2 separate regions of the Homo sapiens genome follow, and region 1 is linked to region 2. Evidence: promoter capture Hi-C in 16 types of primary human blood cells and fetal thymus (Javierre and others, 2016). All regions are on one chromosome and are shown on one strand. The core of a region is centred on a gene start or on the middle of the fragment in contact, and the rest is flanking DNA. Distances in the headings are between cores, read along the strand shown. Region 1 overlaps TAF12 (TATA-box binding protein associated factor 12). Region 2 holds the start of ATP5IF1 (ATP synthase inhibitory factor subunit 1).

Region 1 (7,611 bases), core at 1,715-4,214, 370 kb after region 2:
TGAAGTGGGGGGGACATGGGATCTAACTCAGGGTGGGAGGGAATTTTGAAATGCAGGGTCTCATCCTGGGCCAAGCTTCAGGACGCAGAGGACCAAAGCAAATCAAGGTGGCTGTGCCTGTGCTAGTGACCCTTGGGTAGGACAGCCATCCTCCCTAGAGCCCACAGAACTCTCACAATCCACAAGGGCCATGCTGGGCCCAGGACAGGATGATGCTAGGTGCCACTGAAGGACATGACCCAGAGGTCTGGAAGGCGCCTGGTTTCTTCTGCATGATGGTGAAAACACCAGGATCAAAGATAACAGCAACTAAGAAGAGATGGGCACCTGCACAGACATGCCTATCCTGAGGACAGGGGCCTACTCCCATCCTTTCTCAGGGACAGGGACAAACACAGCTTTCTCCAGGAGTTCCAGAAGAGCAGGTCAAAAAGGGTTTTTAGGCCGGGCGCGGTGGCTCACGCTTGTAATCTCAGCACTTTGGGAGTGCGAGACCTGTCTGACCAACACAGTGAAAACCCCATCTCCACTAAAAATACAAAAATTATCTCGGTGTGGCGGCAGGCGCCTGTAACCCCAGTTACTTGGGAATCTGAGGCAGGAGAATCGCTTAAACCTGGGAGGCTGAGGTGGCAGTGAGCCAAGATCACATCACTGCACTCTAGCCTGGGTGACAGAGCTAGACTCCGTCTCAAAAAAAAAAAAATTAAAAAAAAACAAAAAAAACCAAAAAGGGTTTTTAGGCATATAACATTGCCAAAACAAGGATGCCTCTTCAGTTGAGGGCCGTGAGAGAAGGTCACCCTACTCAATTCTTATGGCCGAGAAGCTGGACTCAAACTCCTGCTGATGTTATGGCCTCCCTTGGGGTAAAATGATGGAAAATCCCTGAGTTTTTCTCAAACACCAAAATGAATAACGATGCTGCCACCTGCTGACTAGAGAGCTACAATCCAGGCTTGCTTGTCCTGACTCCCTCTGGGATTTCAAAGGTACCCTGTCTTTCGATTAATAACTTCTTTATTCTGGAAAAGCAAATGAAAGTCATATTCATATAAACACTGACATTACAAAGTACAGGGAAAAGGGGAAGGGAGAAGGAAACAAAACCCTTTACAAATCCTGCTAATACTGTCTTACCCAAAAAGACCATAATGCTTTGTCCCATATTCAGTCACTTATATAATAAACCACAAATAAAATCTTCTCTGGAAGATACATTGCTCCTCTTTGAGATGGCAGGGAAAAGGGACCGGAAGTTGGGGTAGGAGGCTTTATTCTTTTGGCAGATCCTCTCAGTCATTATAGATATTGCTGCACTGTTAATAAAAAATATATGCTTCTCTGTAAAGCATTAAAAAAAAAAATCCAAGGATGAGATGGCTGAGTTCTCAGCTCAAGTATCTCCAAATACATTGCTGTCCATTCCCTGACCTTTCCGTGTGTTATTTCTTGGTTGTTTTCCGGATCAATGCCATTCTCTGAAAGGAGAGACAAATAAGCAGTTATACAGCAGCAGCTGGAGTCAGGAGCTTTCTGGAACATTCTGTGTGGCTAGCAGGCCTCATGGTCTACACTGTAGGCCGCAGCCCTCAGAGACCTGCAGTCACAAGGCATCTCAGTAGATTCCTTTTAACCAGAGAGCAGTCTGCAAGGCCCCAAGAGATGTTTAGATGGGCTAGTGGACCCATTTCATCCACCAAACTGCTCTAGGCTAGCAGAATGGCAAAAAAGTTAAAAGCAGGAGAAAGTGACAGCTCTTGAGTTTTGGTGACTTAGAGAATAAGCTGGCAAAGCATGTGTTTTCTTTCTTTCTTTTTTTTTTTTTTGAGATGGAATCTCGCTCTGTTGCCCAGGCTGGAGTGCAGTGGCATGATTTCGGCTCACTGCAACCTCTGCCTCCCAAGTTCAAGTGATTCTCCTGCCTCAGCCTCCCCAGTAGCTGGGATTACAGGCACGTGCCACCACGCCTGGCTAATTTTTGTATTTTTAGTAGAGACAGGGTTTCACTACATTGGCCGGGCTGGTGTCAAACTCCTAACCTCAAGTGATCCACCAGGCTCGGCCTCCCAAAGTGCTAGGATTACAGGCATGAGCCACTGCGCCTGGCCAAGCATGTGTTTTCTGGGGTCCCCTGACCCCAATCTTTTCTCCAATGATGGACACAATAGGGAAGGGGCCTCAATTTCAAAGTGTTGCCACACACAAAGGGAGCTGACATTTCACATCTCATGACCTGCATTGAAGGGAAACTGAAGACTAACAACTTCTACCACAGTCCATCATGGAAACACTCAGATCATAGGTTTCATGATCTGAATTCTTTTACTATTACTAGCTACTAGCCAAATTAACAACTTACTTTGTTCATTCTTTTTGACCAAATACCAATATTATGGCATTTGTCGACTAAATAAATAGGGCTGAAAATGGTTAACTTGGGAGCACAAAGTGACAGTCCATTGTTTGCAGGGACTCTCTTCTGAACAGTGCAATCTTTCCATTCAGGAAACTGGTGGCTTCCCTTTAGGGCTTGCTTCGTGAGCTTTACAAACACCGGCTCCAGAGATACCAGGCTATGGCGAAGCAGGGGCACTCAACCAGGACTGCCCAGTTGTGCCTGCTAAGCTTGGAAAAAGCTCACGTTTCAAATCAGAGTAGCCACTTAAGTTAAGACAGAAAGGATAACAGCCTTGTCAGAGGGAGGCCAACACTGCTGTTGGACTGACCAAAGATGGGGATGACTTGCTCCACAGCAGAAGTAGTATTCTCACACTGACTCCTAGGTTCCTTGTTCAGAGGGAACCTTGTTCAAAGGTAAAACCAGGACACAGGCCAGAATGTCCAGCACGGCAGCCTGGATACTACCTCTCAGAACAAGTACAGCACATTTTTGCTTTCTTTAACCTGCCCTCTCTTCATAGGACCATATATGGTGTTGCAATCAGCAACAATGAAGGAAGATTTCATTAAGGAGGTATGGTGGGGCGAGCTGCATCCATATTAGAAGAACCCAGAATCAACAGCTTTAAGTGACACTCAACAGAGTTACGAGAAAAAACAGACCACATGTGGGAACAGCACAGCACCATGTGAATATCTTATTGATCTCCCGGAGACCGCTGCTGCCTCTTGCCCTCTCTGACCCTTGCTCCAGAGAGTGAAGTTTGCTGTGTGGAGGAAGCGAGGCCCCCTAGAAGGTAGCTGTGTGTATCCACTCTGAGACGTAACTCAAGGAATCAGCCCTGGCTGTCCCCAGGGCTCTGGCATTTCCTCACCTGTTTGTGAGCTTCTGTGGTGCAAGCTTTTTTGTAGGGTCGGATTTCTTCAGAGCCAAATCCTGGGATCCACATGTTCCACTGGCGCTCTGCAAGGAAGAAGCCAGCACAGAGATAAACGTACCAAGAAGGCAGTACCAGGAGTGCAATGTGACCCCCTTGGATCAGGGAGGATGAATGTGGGCATCTGGCTACTAACTCCACAAAGGGATTCTATTACAAATAGGGAAAATGGACATGGCTTCTCCAAGGTTTTTTCTTTTTTTTTGGAGACAGGGTCTTCCCACTCTGTCACCCAGAGTGGGGTGCAGTGGCACAATCTTGGCTCACTACAGCCTTGACTACCCCAGCACAAGCGATATTCCCATCCTGGCCTCCCAAGTAGCTGGGACTACAGGCGCATGCCACCATGGCCAGCTAATATTTCTTATTTCTTATATTTCTTTAAGACGGAATTTTGCTCCTGTTGCCCAGGCTGGAGTGCAATGGCGCAATCTCGACTCACTGCAATCTCTCAGGCTTCAACATTGAATATGCCACAGGCTCATTTGCCAGGTTCAAGCAATTCTCCTGCCTCAGCCTCCTGAGTAGCTGGGATTACAGGTGTGTGCCACCATGCCTGGCTTTTTTATTTTTTATTTTTTGGAGATGGAGTCTCACTCTGTTGCCCAAGTTGGAGTGCAGTGGTGCGATCTCGGCTCACTGAAACCTCTGCCACCTGGGTTCAAGCGATTCTCCTGCCTCAGACTCCCGAGTAGCTGGGATTCCAGGCATCTGCCACTGCATCTGGCTAATTTTTGTATTTTTAGTAGAGATGGGGTTTCACCATCTCGGTCAGGCTGGTCTTGAACTCCTGACCTCGTGATCCACCCACCTCGAACTCCCAAAGTTCTAGGATTACAGGCGTGAGACATCGCACCTGGCCTCAGCTAATTTTTTGTATTTTTAGTAGAAACGGGGTTTCACCATGTTAGCCAGGCTGGTCTCAACCTCTTGACCTCAGGTGATCTGCCTGCCTCAGCCTCCCGAAGTGCTGGGATTACAGGCGTGAGCCACTGCGCCTGGCTGTATATTTCTATTTTTTGTAGAGAGGGGGTCTTGTTATGTTGAACTTTTGGGCTCAAGCACATCCTCCTGCCTCAGCCTCCCGAAGTGTTGGTATTACAGGCATCAGTCACCATGCCTGGCTTCCTCCAAGGTTTCTAAAGGACAAAATTCAAGCTTCTTGCAAAGAAAAAGAGGTAATTTAGTCAAAGCTGTGAATGCTGAGACCTAAGGTTTCCATGCAGCTTATCCAATTCACAGAAAATAAATATCATTTATTTCTTTAGTTGTCTTAATCCTAAGGCTCAAAGTAACCCCTCTCACACCTAAGGGACATGAAGGCACTTCAAGCATTCTGGAATTAAGAGCCAAAGCTGAGGTCTGCTGCTTCACTGAGCAGCTGTATGACGCTGGCTCCCAGTTTCTTCATTTTTTATGTAGCTGTAACAACAGTAATAACCACTGACAGGGTGGTTGGGGCATTCAATGACATAAGGCATGTGAAGTATTCAGCCCAGAGCCTAGGGTAAACATATAGGTATGGATATAGAGAGAAGTATGTCCACACCACAGTTCCATGACCTGGTGCCCCTGGATATTATCTTCCTTATAAGGTTATCACAAGAAGTTCCCAGAGGACAGGGACTTTGTTTATTCCTCTTTGACAGTAACTGGCATAGGGGCATGGCCCCCTAAACTCATGTATAAAGGTGTACGTCACTTTTAGCAAATCACAGGCATAAGCCACAACACCTGGCCCAATATTTCTTTGAAAACAGAATGTCTGAAACCTTCTGCTAACAATTTATGTTATTAGTATTTGAAAGTGACACTGGCCAGATGTGGTGGCTCATTCCTGTAATCTCAGCACTTTGGGAGGCCAAGACGGGAAGACTGCTTGAGCCCAGGAGTTCAAGACCAGTGTAGGCATAATAGTGAGACTGCATTGTTACTAGAAATAAAAATATTAGCTGGGCGGGAGTGGTGGGTCACGCCTGTAATCCCAGCACTTCGGGAGGCCAAAGTGGGCGGATCACCTGAAGTCAGGAGCTCAAGACCAGTCTGGCCAACATGGTGAAACCTGGTGTCTACTAAAAATATAAAAAATTAGTCAGGCATGGTGGCAGGTGCCTATAATCCCAGCTACTTGGGAGGCTGAGGCAGGAGAATCACTTGAACCTGGGAGGCAGAGGTTGCAGTGAGCTGAGACGGCACCACTGCACTCTAGCCTAGGTGACAGAGCGAGACTCCATCTCAAAAAGAAAACTTTTTTTTTTAGCTGTATGTGGTGGTGTGCACCTGTAGTCCCAACTACTTGGGAGTCTAAGGCAGGAGGATCACTTGAGCCCAGGAGGTAGAAGATGCAGTGAGCCATAATCACACCACTGCACTGCAGCCTGGGTGAAGAGGAAGATCCTGCCTCAAAAGAAAACAAAAAGGGCCAGGCACGATGATTCACACCTGTAATCCCACCACTTTGGGAGGCTGAGGCGGATGGATCACTTGAGGCCAAGAGTTCAAGATCAGCCTGGACAACATGGTGAAACCTCCTATCTACTAAAAATACAAAAATTAGCCAAGAGTGATGGTGAGTGCCTATAATCCCAGCTACAAGGCACAAGAATCCCTTGAACAGCCGGGCGTGATGGCTCATGCCTGTAATCCGAGCACTTTGGGAGACCAAGGCTGGTGGATCACAAAGTCAGGAGATCAAGACCATCCTGGCTAACACAGTGAAACCCGGTCTCTACTAAAAATACAAAAAAAAAAAAAAAAAAAAATAGCCGGGTGTGGTGGCGGGCGCCTGTAGTCCCAGCTACTCGGGAGGCTGAGGCAGGAGAATGGTGTGAACCTGGGAGGCAGAGCTTGCAGTGAGCCAAGATCGCGCCACTGCACTCCAGCGTGGGCGATAGAGCAAGGCTCCATCTCAAAAAAAAAAGGATCCCTTGAACTCAGGTGGTGGAGGTTGCAGACAAAGGTTATTCTCTACGAATTGAACTTTACAGTCAACAAAAAGTAGATAAAGTGTGCAAAGTCACTTTAAAGAAAGAGAGCAGGCCGGGTGTGGTGGCTCACGGCTGCAATCCCAGCACTTTGGGAGGCCAAGGTAGGCAGATTGCCTGAGCTCAGGAGTTGGAGACCAGCCTGGGCAACACAGTGAAAACCCGTCTCGACTAAAAATACAAAAAATTAGCCAGGCGTGGTGGCGTGTGCCTGTGGTCCCAGCTAATCGGGAGGCTGAAGCAGGAGAATCGCTTGAACCCGGGAGGCAGAGGTTGCAGTGAGCGGAGATTGTGCCACTGCACTCCAGTCTGGGCGACAGACTGAGACTCTGTCTCAAAGTAAATAAATAAATAAATAAAAGACAAAAAATTAGCCAGGCGTGGTGGGAGGGCGCCTACGTAATCCCAGTTACTCCGAAGGCTGAGGCAGGAGAATCACTTGAACCTGGAAGGCAGAGGTTGCAGTGAGCCGAGGTCACACCCTTGCATTCCAGCCTGGGCAAAAAGAGTGAAATTCCGTCTCAAAAATAAATAAAGAAAGAAATAATAAAGACAGTAGCTACCACACATGAATACATACATGTATGTGTGTCTATTTATGTAACTACGTATACCTATATGCGTTATGTGTGTATACATATATCTTATATAATCTTTTTTATTTATTTATTTTTTGAGACTGAGTTTTGCTCTTGTTGCCCAGGCTGGAGTGCAATGGTGTGATCTCGGCTCACTGCAACCTCCGCCTCCTAGGTTCAAGCGATTCTCCTGCCTCAGCCTCCCGAGTAGCTGGGATTACAGGCACATGCCACCACGCCCGGCTAATTTTGTATTTTTAGTAGAGGCAGGGTTTCTCCACGTTGGTCAGGCTGGTCTCGAACTCCTGACCTCAAGGGAAATGCCCGCCTCGGCCTCCCAAAGTGCTGGGATTACAGGCGTGAGCCACCATGCCCGGCCTATATAATCTTAATATAATAGCAACAACAATCATTTAGTGAATGAAATGTAGTAAATGCATGGTCAAAGCAACATTGTGCAAAGCATTCTATGTAAATTATCTCATTTAACTTTAACTTTTTTTTTTCTGAGATGGGCTACTGCTCTGTCGCCCAGGCTGGAGTGCAGTGGTGTGATCTTGGCTCACTGCAACCTCTGCCTCCTGGATTCAAGCGATTTTCGTGCCTCAGCCTCTGGAGTAGCTGGGACTACAGGCGTGCACCACCACGCTCAGCTAATTTTTGTATTTTTGGTAGAGATGGGGTTTCACCGTGTTGGCCAGGCTGGTC
Region 2 (7,243 bases), core at 663-3,162:
CTTGGCTCACTGCAACCGCCGCCTCCCAGGTTCAAGCAATTCTCCTGCCTCAACCTCCTGAGTAGCTGAGATTACAGGCGCATGTCACCACGCCCGGCTGATTTTTGTATTTTTAGTAGAGACGGAGTTAGTCAGGCTGATCTCGAACTCCTGACCTCATGATCCATGCGCCTCGGCCTCCCGAAGTGCTGGGATTACAGGTGTGAGACACCACGCCCAGCCCCAAAGAAGGTATTTTTATAATCATCAATCAGGTAGATAATCTGGCCCAATTCTCTCATCTAAAAAAGAAGAAACAGAGAAGAGAAAATGAGTTAGAGAAGAGCTATAAACTTCATGAGAGTAAAGACTACTGTTGTCTTGTTCACATTCATTAGATGGATGAAGGGAGGTTAAGGTCAAGCTTTCCCTAGACTCCTACTTATCCTTTTTTTTTTTTTTTTTTTTTTTTTTTGAGACAGAGTTTCGCTCTTGTTACCCAGGCCGCAGTGCAATGGCGTGATCTCAGCTCACCGCAACCTCAGCCTCCCGGGTTCAAGCATTCTCCTGCCTCAGCCTCCCAAGTAGCTGGGATTACAGGCATGTGCCACCACGCCTAGCTAATTTATTTTTTATTTTTATTTATTTATTTTTGAGACAGTTTCTCTCTTGTTGACCAGGCTGGAGTGCAATGGCGTGATCTCAGCTCACTGCACCCCCTGCCTCTCAGGTTCAAGCGATTCTCCTGCCTCAGCCTCCCGAGTAGCTGGGATTACAGATATGCGCCACCATGCCCAGCTAATTTTTCATATTTTTTTTTTAGTAGAGATGGGGTTTCTCCATGTTGGTCAAGCTGGTCTCGAATTCCCAACCTCAGGTGATCTGCCCGCCTCGGCCTCCCAAAGTGCTGGGATTACAGGTGTGAGCCACCGCGCCTGGCCTGCTCTTTTCTACTGCATTGCACCACATTGCCAAAAGTGCAGTTATTAAGCCCATTCAACAATATGTTGCTAACGAAAAAAACAAACTAAAATATTTTTAAAAGGTTTATTCTGAGCCAAGATGAGTGACCATAGCTTGGGGAAACACAGCCTCAAGAGGTCCTAGGAAACTGTGCCTGAGGTGGTCAAGTTATAATTTGGGTTTTCTTTTTTTTTTTTTTGTTTTGAGACGGAGTCTCGCTTTGTCACCAGGCTGGAGTGCAGTTGCGCAATCTCGGCTCACTGCAACCTCCGCCTCCCGGGTTCAAGCCAATTCTCCTGTCTCAGCCTCCTGAGTAGCTGCGATTACAGTCGCGTGCCACCGCACCCGGCTGATTTTTGTATTTTTAGTAGAGACGGGGTTTCCCCATGTTGGCCAGGCTGGTCTCGAACTCCGGACCTCAGGTGATCCACCCACTTCGGCCTCCCAAAGTGTTGGGATTACAGGCGTGAGCCACCGCGCCCAGCCAGAACACTGACACTTCTCATAACAAATGAACGCGATTTATGTATATCTAAGCCAGGGCACATTGGACGTCGGTATCCTGGACATCAGCATCCTGGACACAGCTCCCAAACCCCGAATTCCCCCATTTTATTGATGCTAGCAGGCCAGGGAAGGGAAAACTTCCTTTGGGCTTTGAATAATAACGACTTTAGAATTGAAATCGTGGGCTGGAGGTGGACGCCACGCCTCATTCTGATGGGTCCAAGAGCCGAAATTTCGGCTTCTGGCACTCTCCTCACTCAGCTCTCTAAACTCCTCCATCATTCCTCTTTCCAGTCCTTTGGCCCTAAGCCCTTGCTAGCGGTTGGCTAAGAAGAAACCCGTCTCTTGCTCGGGATTCGCTGTGAGCTCCGGGAAGCCCGCCTCCGCTCTCCCGTGATTCGCTACTCCTGTGTTCATCCGCCCCTCCGTCGACCAGATTGGGTGCTTGGCCGTCCCTGCCATTAGCGCGTAACGAGAGACTGCTTGCTGCGGCAGAGACGCCAGAGGTGCAGCTCCAGCAGCAATGGCAGTGACGGCGTTGGCGGCGCGGACGTGGCTTGGCGTGTGGGGCGTGAGGACCATGCAAGCCCGAGGCTTCGGCTCGGATCAGGTACGCTGCGGCAGTGTCCGCTGCTCCAGCCCCGCGGGCGGATCCCATCTTTGCTTCCGTACCTTTACCAGTGTCCCTGTCTCTCTGCAGTCCGAGAATGTCGACCGGGGCGCGGGCTCCATCCGGGAAGCCGGTGGGGCCTTCGGAAAGAGAGAGCAGGCTGAAGAGGAACGATATTTCCGGTGAGGCTCACCGGGTCCCAAGTCCAGCCCTGGATCTCCCAATGGCCTTCCAATCCTTAAACTGCCAATCGCCCCACCCGTTCCTACCTGGTGCCTTGGGCGCCCCATCCCCCAACAGAACTCCCGGGCCCCAATCCAGTATACCCTAACCCTTGATGTCCCGACCGTTGCCACGTATAGGGCACTCCCAGTTACCTGCACAACAGTTTCAGGCCCCCAAACCGTTTCCACCGGCGGGTCTCCAAAACAACCCACGGCTCAACTCCTCCTTTATCATTACCATCTCCCGCGTGGAGTTCTCCTCAGGTCGTGCGAAACACCCCCAGATTCTTCGCACAGTGTCTAGATCCGACCGCCCAACGTTTGCCTCCCAGCCTGACTCCCTCGGCCCTTACCCACCTGTCACCCCCTCTACGCTCTCCTTCCTCGCCAGCACGCCTTAGCTTTGCAAGCCTGCATGCATTCAGGCTTCTCAGGTGTTTCTAGACCCCCGACTCCGCAAGAGTGAGGATGATGGGAGCTGGTCATGGGAGCTACTTATGGTTGGACACCATCTTCTAAAGGCTTTTGCCCTACTCAGCCCAACCTAGACCTGTAGATTTCCCTCTCCTGCTTAGGAGTATGGAGTGGGCTGGGCCTCCCTTTGCCAGCCTTGAGTTATCTTTAACTGACTTCTGTCCACTCTGGAGAGCAGTGAGGAATTAATCTTGCTTTTGCTTGTCCTTTGGCCTTTCACTTCTGCCTTCTGTTGAGAATTATCACCATGACACCTGCCATACCGTATAGAGAGCCAAGGTACAGCCGTTAGAGACTATCTAATTGAGCCCCTACATTTTGTAGTTAAGGAAAACTGAGGCCTAAATGTGACCAAACCAACATTGTAATCCAGTCCCTTCTTGGAACCTAAATTGAACTGCCAAGTACTGCGCATGCAAGAGACCCTTTATTGGCCTTACAGTGGGCCATTCATTTCTATAGGCAAAGAAAGCTCTAGACAGATTGGAATAGGAAATGGATATTTGCCTTTTAGCTACACCCCTTTGTCTGTCTTCCTCATTTTGTTCCTTTTTTTTTCCCTAAAGGGGAGTCAAGTTCCCTGGGTTGTTCCCCTCATAAGGTATTAGGGACTTGTGTCACATCTCTCTGGAGTTTTCTATTTTAAAGAGGAATCTGAAAGCAATAAGCTCTTTGGTCTTCTTAAGATGGCTACACCTCAATTTAAGATGGGGTATTCTTTCACTAGTTGAGGAGTAGAAGAGGATGACCAGCTAGACTCCCATGGAATTGGAACTCCTATTCCTTGCTTAGACATTACAGGTTATGCTTTGAGATCTCTTTGGGGTGAAGGATTGAAATTAAACCCTGAGCCACCGTGTCCTTGTAGAGCACAGAGTAGAGAACAACTGGCAGCTTTGAAAAAACACCATGAAGAAGAAATCGTTCATCATAAGAAGGAGATTGAGCGTCTGCAGAAAGAAATTGAGCGCCATAAGCAGAAGATCAAAATGCTAAAACATGATGATTAAGTGCACACCGTGTGCCATAGAATGGCACATGTCATTGCCCACTTCTGTGTAGACATGGTTCTGGTTTAACTAATATTTGTCTGTGTGCTACTAACAGATTATAATAAATTGTCATCAGTGAACTGTGTTTGATGCCTTCTTCTATCTGGAAGAGATAGACAGACACCAATGGACTGCTAAAATGGATTAGAGGCGTCCCTGCATCCAGGAACCCACAGACAATGCACAGTGTGATAAGTGCTATGAAACAACACGAGTTGGGGGGATAGGTGTGACACAGACAAAGTACCCCTCCCCGTCTAATTAGAGGTGTTCAGAGAAAGCTTCCTGAAGGATAAATCCCAATCTGAAGCATAAAGATCAGGAGGATCCTGGAGATCCGAAGGAGTCATTGCTTCAAAAGATACAATTAGGCCAGGTGCGGTGGCTCATGCCTGTAATCCCAGCACTTTGGAAGGCCAAGGTGGGTGGATCACCTGAGGTCAGGAGTTCAAGACCAGCCTGGACAACAGTAAAACCCCATCTCTATTAAAAATACAAAAATTAGCCAGGTGTGGTGGCACGCACCTGTAGTCCCAGCTACTCAGGAGGCTGAGGCAGGAAAACCACTTGAACCTGGGAGGTGTAGGTTGCAGTGAGCCGAGACTGTGCCACTGCACTCCAGTCTGGGTGACAGAATGAGACTCTGTCTCAAAAAAAAAAAAAAAAAAGATACAATTGAAAGTACCATCAGTTAAAACAGCATTTTGCATTTTTAAAATGGTTTAGAGGATACTTAATATGAGCTAGTCATCCTTGTTCTAATTTTGTAGATTGAGAGAACTGGAATTAGAAATCATGTGATTTATACAGTCACTCAGCACCTTGGCAGTGAGACTTGTGTCCAGGTTTTTTGACTACTAAACCAAGTCTGTTATTAGCAGAAAATCAGAATTATTTCTTAGGTTATATTTTGCTTTGCCAAGTATTTTGTTTCAAATTAGACTTGAGGGCCTAGTATAACTAAATTATTATACAAACTAGTTGTGTAACTCCTCTAGGCAAAAAAATTTGAGGTGACATTTGGGCCATTAGCAAAACATTTTCAGTTCACCAGTTCAGTAGAGTATTTGCCCAGGATTGTAATGAGTTATTTGTTCTAAGACCCTATCTATCTCACAAGGGCCTGTAGGACCATTGAGTGATAAAAGCTTGGAGAAGTCGCATTGACCTTGTCTGTACAGACAAAACACTAGATAGTTTGACTTGCCCATGAAACTGAACACAGCCAGGTGTGGTATGTGCCTACAGTTCAGCTACTTGGCAGTCTGAGGCAAGACGATTGCTTGAGCCCAGGAGTTCCAGACATGCCTGGGCAGCATTTTGACCCCATCTCTTTAAAAAAAAAAACAAAAAACAAAAAACTAAACTTTGAATTATAATGATTATAATGTTGCTGAATCTCAGCACTGAGGCCTCAGTAGTGCCTATAAATCTTGCAAGTGGCCAGCAACAAAATAACCTGAAAAGATGAAGTTCAAGAAACAATCATACTAAGTCAAATGCCTTTTATTTTAACATTATTAACAGTGCAACACTTGAAAAGTTTAAAAATTGGAAACAAGTATTAGCAAACATCTTTAATTTTGCATATTTGTAACCAAAAAAACAAGGTATACAAAATCCCCTGAATTTGTACATGATGGTGTTTTTTTGACTTATAATCAACAATTGCCTTACTAAGAGTGATGTTCCTGAATTGTTTCCTCAGTAAAGGTGTACCATAGGCTGGGTGCGATGGCTCATGCCTGTAATCCCAGCACTTTGAGAGGCCGAGGCAGGCGGATCATCTGAGGTCAGGAGTTCAAGACCAGCCTGGCTAACATGGCAAAACCCCATCTCTACTAAAAATACAAAAATTAGCCATGTGTGGTGTTGGGCACCTGTAATCCCCGCTACTCGGGAGGCTGAGGCAGGAGAATTACTTGAACCTGGGAGGCAGAGGTTGCAGTGAGCTGAGATTGTGCCACTGTACTCCAGCCTGAGAGACAGAGTGAGACTCCATCTCAACAACAACCAAAAAAAGATTAAATAGGCTAATTTAAATATATCTGAACTTTGTGAAAATGGTAACTCATGGTCTTTTTGTTATGATATACCTGTGGTTAATTTTTCTATCATGCTGCAGTAAAAGCAAGATGTAAATACTGAGTAATATCACAAACATGTTTGAATCCTAAAAGAATTTATGTGACATGAGCCAGTAACCACTGAAAAAACAGCACAGGTCATAGGTGGTTCTTAGAATCAGGATAATTTGGAAAATACTACAGCAGTGGTTCCATGAGCCAGCAGTGTCAGCATCACCTGGGAACTTGTTAGAAATGCAAATTCTCGGCAGGGCGCGGTGGCTCTTGCCTGTAATCCCAGCAATTTGGGAGGCCGAGGTGGGTGGGTCACAAGGTCAGGAGTTCGAGACCAGCCTGGCCAATATGGTAAAACCCCGTCTCTACTAAAAATCCAAAAATTAGCTGAGCATGGTGGCGGGCACCTGTAGTCCCAGCTACTCGGGAGGCTGAGGCAGAAGAATCGCTTGAACCGGGAGGCGGAGGTTGCAGTGAGCCAAGATCGCACCACTGCACTCCAGTCTGGGCAACAGAGCAAGACTCCGTCTAAAAAAAAAAAAAAAAGAAATGTAAATTCTCAGGCCCCACCACAAACCTGCTGAAACGAGGGGTTTGACTCAGCAATCCTTTAACAAGCCCTCCGGTTGATTCTGTCATGTATGCACCAAAGTTTGACGATCATTGTAGTACAGGTAGTTTCTCATGGAATCTGCTGGCATTTTTGGGTAAACACTTTTATAAAGACAGATTATTAGGTATAATAAAAGTAACTATATATGTTTAATATAATTCATAATATGAATGTGACTTTAGAATTTAGAAATAAATGGTTCTTGTATGGAACTTGTTAACATTTGAGAACACAGCATTCCACAGAATACAGTTTGGGAAATACTTCACTTGTATAATATATTTATTGCCTTAGTCAAAATTCTTTTTGTCCTCCGCCTCCCACTGCTTCACTTGACTAGCCTAAAAAAATAAAAAATAAAATCCTTTTTGTTTACATGTAACAGAAACCAGCACTGGCTGTCTAAAGGGGAAGAAAAAGAGTAATTTACTGGAAGAAATAGGGGCTATTGTCTCACAGAATCTCAAGAAGATTTCAGCAAACAAGACTCAGGAAAAAAAGGGACAGCAGTAGCCAGAGGAGTTCTGTGAACTTACAGGAGCAGATCTGTCTAAGCAACTTCTAAACCCTCTGGGTCAGAATCGGGCTGGCTGGGCTGGGCGCAGTGGCTCCCCGCTGTAATCCCAGCACTTTGGGAGGCAAAGGCGGACGGATCACTTGATCCCAGGAGCTTGAGACCAGCCTGGGTAACATGACCAAACCCCATTTCTGCAGAAAATACAAAATAATAATAATAATAA

What was found. The method cuts DNA at HindIII sites, captures the fragments that hold promoters and counts their contacts. A CHiCAGO score of 5 or more calls a contact.
Region 1: a fragment that was not itself captured here is called in contact with the fragment with the promoter of ATP5IF1 in region 2 in 1 of 17 cell types (endothelial precursors); the score reaches 5.4 in endothelial precursors.

The regions. Positions count from the first base shown.
Region 1 is chr1:28,602,094-28,609,704 of GRCh38, forward strand. It overlaps TAF12 (TATA-box binding protein associated factor 12), which reads right to left. Exons shown (of 6, transcript NM_005644.4): 5 at 3,279-3,367; 6 at 757-1,481. The coding sequence ends at 1,446. Among named protein-coding and RNA genes, the nearest start is that of RAB42, 14 kb to the left of the region's middle. RefSeq lists an enhancer at 346-846. The HindIII fragment of the contact is 676 bases long and covers 2,627-3,302 here.
Region 2 is chr1:28,234,212-28,241,454 of GRCh38, forward strand. It overlaps ATP5IF1 (ATP synthase inhibitory factor subunit 1), which reads left to right and starts at 1,913. Exons shown (of 3, transcript NM_016311.5): 1 at 1,913-2,059; 2 at 2,150-2,241; 3 at 3,626-3,889. The coding sequence starts at 1,973. The coding sequence ends at 3,767. RefSeq lists enhancers at 812-1,318, 2,112-2,171 and a silencer at 1,151-1,375. The HindIII fragment of the contact is 3,687 bases long and covers 402-4,088 here.